Linked DNA regions of Homo sapiens: region 2 is linked to region 1. The links are contacts of gene promoters, found by promoter capture Hi-C in human tissues and cell types (Jung and others, 2019). All regions are on one chromosome and are shown on one strand. The core of a region is centred on a gene start or on the middle of the fragment in contact, and the rest is flanking DNA. Distances in the headings are between cores, read along the strand shown. Region 1 holds the start of WT1 (WT1 transcription factor). Region 2 has its middle 33 kb from the start of WT1.

Region 1 (3,108 bases), core at 219-2,718:
CAACTACTTTGCTTCACATAAGTTTGGCTGGAAAGCTTGCAGCCCCAGCCCGGGCCAGCCAGGTACAGGAGGCCGGACTGCAACCGGTTGCTTCCCTCCCGTCGCGCCTGGCCGTCCCACGCTGCGCCGTCGCTGCTGCCTCCTGGCGCCCCTGGGATTTTATACGCACCTCTGAAACACGCTCCGCTCCGGCCCCCGGTTCTTCTCCTTGCCTAGGGGTTGTTTCCCAATAGATACTGACTCCTTTAGAAGATCCAAAAACCAAACCAAAACACCCCCTACCCGCCCCAAACACCTGCTCTGGGGCGCGGGGGCTGCCAAACAGAGACTAGACGAAGGGAGTCAGATTTAGCGAAGCTCTTCGAGCTCCCAAAGATTCGAACACTAACTCGCGCCCGTGGGCCGATGGAGGTTCTCCCTACTCCACTCCTTGGTCCCCTTAACTGGCTTCCGCCTCCTGGTCAATCACTGAGCAACCAGAATGGTATCCTCGACCAGGGCCACAGGCAGTGCTCGGCGGAGTGGCTCCAGGAGTTACCCGCTCCCTGCCGGGCTTCGTATCCAAACCCTCCCCTTCACCCCTCCTCCCCAAACTGGGCGCCAGGATGCTCCGGCCGGAATATACGCAGGCTTTGGGCGTTTGCCCAAGGGTTTTCTTCCCTCCTAAACTAGCCGCTGTTTTCCCGGCTTAACCGTAGAAGAATTAGATATTCCTCACTGGAAAGGGAAACTAAGTGCTGCTGACTCCAATTTTAGGTAGGCGGCAACCGCCTTCCGCCTGGCGCAAACCTCACCAAGTAAACAACTACTAGCCGATCGAAATACGCCCGGCTTATAACTGGTGCAACTCCCGGCCACCCAACTGAGGGACGTTCGCTTTCAGTCCCGACCTCTGGAACCCACAAAGGGCCACCTCTTTCCCCAGTGACCCCAAGATCATGGCCACTCCCCTACCCGACAGTTCTAGAAGCAAGAGCCAGACTCAAGGGTGCAAAGCAAGGGTATACGCTTCTTTGAAGCTTGACTGAGTTCTTTCTGCGCTTTCCTGAAGTTCCCGCCCTCTTGGAGCCTACCTGCCCCTCCCTCCAAACCACTCTTTTAGATTAACAACCCCATCTCTACTCCCACCGCATTCGACCCTGCCCGGACTCACTGCTTACCTGAACGGACTCTCCAGTGAGACGAGGCTCCCACACTGGCGAAGGCCAAGAAGGGGAGGTGGGGGGAGGGTTGTGCCACACCGGCCAGCTGAGAGCGCGTGTTGGGTTGAAGAGGAGGGTGTCTCCGAGAGGGACGCTCCCTCGGACCCGCCCTCACCCCAGCTGCGAGGGCGCCCCCAAGGAGCAGCGCGCGCTGCCTGGCCGGGCTTGGGCTGCTGAGTGAATGGAGCGGCCGAGCCTCCTGGCTCCTCCTCTTCCCCGCGCCGCCGGCCCCTCTTATTTGAGCTTTGGGAAGCTGAGGGCAGCCAGGCAGCTGGGGTAAGGAGTTCAAGGCAGCGCCCACACCCGGGGGCTCTCCGCAACCCGACCGCCTGTCCGCTCCCCCACTTCCCGCCCTCCCTCCCACCTACTCATTCACCCACCCACCCACCCAGAGCCGGGACGGCAGCCCAGGCGCCCGGGCCCCGCCGTCTCCTCGCCGCGATCCTGGACTTCCTCTTGCTGCAGGACCCGGCTTCCACGTGTGTCCCGGAGCCGGCGTCTCAGCACACGCTCCGCTCCGGGCCTGGGTGCCTACAGCAGCCAGAGCAGCAGGGAGTCCGGGACCCGGGCGGCATCTGGGCCAAGTTAGGCGCCGCCGAGGCCAGCGCTGAACGTCTCCAGGGCCGGAGGAGCCGCGGGGCGTCCGGGTCTGAGCCGCAGCAAATGGGCTCCGACGTGCGGGACCTGAACGCGCTGCTGCCCGCCGTCCCCTCCCTGGGTGGCGGCGGCGGCTGTGCCCTGCCTGTGAGCGGCGCGGCGCAGTGGGCGCCGGTGCTGGACTTTGCGCCCCCGGGCGCTTCGGCTTACGGGTCGTTGGGCGGCCCCGCGCCGCCACCGGCTCCGCCGCCACCCCCGCCGCCGCCGCCTCACTCCTTCATCAAACAGGAGCCGAGCTGGGGCGGCGCGGAGCCGCACGAGGAGCAGTGCCTGAGCGCCTTCACTGTCCACTTTTCCGGCCAGTTCACTGGCACAGCCGGAGCCTGTCGCTACGGGCCCTTCGGTCCTCCTCCGCCCAGCCAGGCGTCATCCGGCCAGGCCAGGATGTTTCCTAACGCGCCCTACCTGCCCAGCTGCCTCGAGAGCCAGCCCGCTATTCGCAATCAGGGTAAGTAGGCCGGGGAGCGCCCCCTACGCGCGGGGCAGTGGCGCCAGGGACTCTCCGCTCTAGGACACCCCCCTCTCCTACCCCTTTTGACCGCAGCTCTTACCCAGCTGCTTCCCAAGGGCCGTGAGGATAGCGGAAGCGGCGGCTGGGGAGGAGGCCGGAGAGTGGGAGTGCACGCAGGCACTGGCCCCCGACATCCTCCAAAGCCAGGCAGAGCTAGGAGCCTGACTGTTCGCAAGAGCCGGGAGGGCGTCTGGGGCCCCTTAGAGTCCGAGAGATTCCGGGACTGCTAGTCCCCACGGGAGTGGAACCAGGAGACCGGCGCAGTGTCTGGCTCTGCCTTGGGGAGAGTTTTGTTAATTAAGGAAACGCCAAATTGTCACCAAGCGTAGCGCTTTTCAGACGTCTGGACTCTGGATTCGGAGTGGGACCAGCGCGGGGGTGAGCGCCTGTGCTGTGCTGCCTCCGCAGCGCTAAAATGTCCAGGAGCACCTCCAGCCCTTATAATACGGTGTTGGCACACACTTAGGTGCACATTAAGTATCGTAGAGAACTAGAATGAGCACATGCACCTCCAGTAACTAAATGGCTTTCTGGAACAGCGTCGTGTCCGTGGATAGCTCCCGCGTATGGTAATACAGAAGTGGATCTTCACTGGGCTTCGCTCAGGCGGCGGCCACGCAGGTTCTGGGGATGGAAGAGAACTTGACTTATCCGAGTCCAAGCTATGCGGGACCAGGTTCTACCGCAGGCAGTGGAAGGAGGCACGAGCTTTGGCCTTTCTTTCAGCGCATCTGGGGC
Region 2 (2,961 bases), core at 264-2,763, 33 kb before region 1:
GAATTACATAGTAGTGATGATTGCACAATATTGTGAATGTATCAAAAGTACCCTTTAATTGTACATTTTAAAATGCTTAAAGTGAGCCAGGTGAGGAGGCTTACGCCTGTAATTTCAGCAATTTGGGAGGCTGAAGCAAGAGAACAGCTTGAGGCCAGGAGTTCAAGACAAGCCTAGGCAACTGGTAGTGAGACACTTATCTCTTAAAAAAAAAAAAAATTAGCTGCGCATGGTGGTGCATGCCTGAAGTCCCACCTACTCCTTGGGAGGCTGATGTGAAAGGATCCCTTGAGCCTAGGAGTTCGAGGCTACAGTGAACTGTTTGTGCCACTGCACTCCAGCCTGAGCAACAGAGACCCTGCTTCTTAAAAAAAAAAATGCATTAAATGTTGTCTTATGTTATGTGAATTTTACCTCAGAAAAATAAAAAACAAAAATTAAGCAATACATTCCAGCATTATGAAATGAATATCAAAGAGCTTATGAATTTTAAAGCTATCATTCTTTCTATTTTTCTGCATATACCAAATTTTCTACATATGGATGAATTGCTTTTTAAAAGCACTCTTTAATTTTGAAACAATTATAGATTCGCAGGAAGTTGCAAAGATAGTACAGAGAAGTCCTGTGTACCTTCAGTTCCCACCACCCCCCACCCCCCCGACTCCCCGCCCTTACAATCTTGCATAACTATAGTAGAATGAAAACCAGGAAGTCACCATTGATACAATGTATATGTATAGTTCTATGCCACTCACAGGTGCAGATTGTGTAATCACCACTGCAGTAAAGACATAAAACTATTCCATCACCACGAAGAGCTTCCTCAGTCTATTCCATTAGAATAACCCATTGCTGGCTGGACATGGTGGCTCTCACCTGTAATCCCAGCACTTTGGGAGGCCGAGGCGGGTGGATCACCTGAGGTCAGGGGTTCGAGACCAGCCTGACCAACATGGTGAAACCCGTCTCTACTAAAAATACAAAAATTAGCAGGATGTGGTGGCGGGCACCTGTAATCCCAACTACTTGGGAGGCTGAAGCAGGAGAATCGCTTGAGTCCAGGAGGCAGAGCTTGCAGTGAGCCGAGAGCATGCCATTGCACTCTAGCCTGGGCAACAGAGTGAGTCTCAAAATAATAATAATAACCCATTGTCCTCCTCCCCACCAATCCTAACTGGGTAGATGCCCATCTGTTCTACATCTCTGTGATTTTGTCATTTCAAGATGGTTCTGTAAATGAAATCATATAGAATGTGACCTTTTGAGATGGGCTTTTTTCACTGGCATAATACCCCTGAAGTCCATGCAGCTTGTTGTGCATGTCAATAGGGTTGGCCTTTTTTTATTGCTGAATAGTATTCTATGGTATGGATGTACCATGGTTTGCCTAATTATTTACCTCTTGAAGGATATTTCAGTTGTTGCTAGATTTGGGCTTTTACAAATAAAGCTACTATGGACATTCATGTGCAGGTTTTTTGGTAGATGTAAGTGTTATTTTTCTGGGATAAATGCCCAAGAGTACAGTTGCTGGGTCATGTGGTAATCATATGTTTAGTTTTTTAAGAAATTGCTAGGCCAGTCACAGTGGCTCACGCCTATAGTCCCAGCACTTTGGAAGGACAAGGTGGCAAGCTAGCTTGAACCCAGAAGTTCAAGACCAGCCTGGGCAACACAGTGAGACCTTCTCTCTAAAAAAAAAATAAGATAAAATAAGCTGGGCTTGGTGGCATGTGGCTGTGGTCCCAGCTATTCAGGAGGCTGAGATGGGAGGATCACTTGAGCTTGGGAGGTTGAGGCTGCAGTGAGCCGTGGTTGTGCCACTGCATTCCAGCCTGGGCAACAGACAAAGACCCCATCTCAAAAAAATTAAGTTTAATTTTAAGAAAGGAAGACTGCCAAATCAGTTTCCAGGGTGGCTGTGCCATATTATACTCCACGAGCAATGCATGAGTGACTCAGTTTCTCTGCATCCTTGCCATCACTACTTCTATTATTTTATTTTATTTTTATTTTTTCTAGGGATGGGGTCTCCCTATGTTACCGGGACTGGTCTTGAACTCCTGAGCTCAAGCAATCCTCCCACGTCAGCTTCCCAAAAGCCATCACTATTTTAAAATTTAGCTGGTGTAAAGGGTGATAGCTCCTCATGGTCTTAATTTACATTTCCCTAACGATAGTGATGTGGATGTTGAATAGCTTATCATGTGCTCTTCAGCGAATCCTTTTCATATCTTTTGTCTGTTTTCTAATTAGATTGTTTTCACTGCTGAATTTTGAGTTACTTATATATTGTAGATTATATATATATATATCTACTGTAAAGTCCTCTGTCAGAATGTGTGGTTTGCAAATATTTTCTCTGAGCCTGTAGTTTGTCTCTTCATCCTCTTAACAAGGTCTTTCCCAGAGCAAAAGTTTTTTATTTTTATTTATTTGGTTAGTTTTTGAGACAGGCTAGAGTGCAAACTAGACAGGGTAGAGGCTGTCGCCCAGGCTAGAGTGCAGGGGTGCAAGCTTGGCTCACTGCAACCTATGCCTCCCAGGTTCAAGCGATTCTCCTGTCTCAGCCTCCTGAGTAGCTGGGATTACAGGCATGCACCACCATGCCCGGCTACTTTTTTGTATTTTTAGTAGAGACGGGGTTTCACTATGTTGGCCAGGCTGGTCTTGAACTCCTGATCTCAGGTGATCCACCCGCCTTGGCATTCCTAAGTGGTAGGATTACAGGCGTGAGCCACCGCGCCCGGCTGTTTTTTAATTTTTATAACGTTGAATCTACTGATTTTTTCTTTTATAGATTGTACTTCTTGGTGTTGTGTTTTTCTTGCTGAAGCCCTAAATCCTGAAGATTTTCTCCTAAAACATGTTATAGTTAGGAATTACTTTTTGAAAAGCCTTTTTTAAAAATATGTAAAAGAAATACATGCTCATTGTAGACAATTTGGAATATTTAAA

What was found. The method cuts DNA at HindIII sites, captures the fragments that hold promoters and counts their contacts. A contact is called where the count stands out against the background at its distance.
Region 2: a fragment that was not itself captured here is called in contact with the fragment with the promoter of WT1 in region 1 in 1 of the 25 tissues and cell types used here (spleen).

What each region holds. Positions count from the first base shown.
Region 1 is chr11:32,433,899-32,437,006 of GRCh38, reverse strand. It overlaps WT1 (WT1 transcription factor), which reads left to right and starts at 1,468. Exons shown (of 10, transcript NM_024426.6): 1 at 1,468-2,307. The coding sequence starts at 1,647. It overlaps WT1-AS (WT1 antisense RNA), which reads right to left and starts at 1,489. Exons shown (of 5, transcript NR_120548.1): 1 at 1,161-1,489. RefSeq lists promoters at 33-369, 1,273-1,375, 1,017-1,667, 469-1,667, 3,005-3,108, cis regulatory regions at 828-847, 940-1,066, 1,051-1,088 and enhancers at 1,395-1,427, 2,535-3,108. The HindIII fragment of the contact is 5,194 bases long and covers 528-3,108 here.
Region 2 is chr11:32,467,051-32,470,011 of GRCh38, reverse strand. No RefSeq gene overlaps it. Among named protein-coding and RNA genes, the nearest start is that of WT1, 33 kb to the right of the region's middle. The HindIII fragment of the contact is 7,158 bases long and covers 1-2,961 here.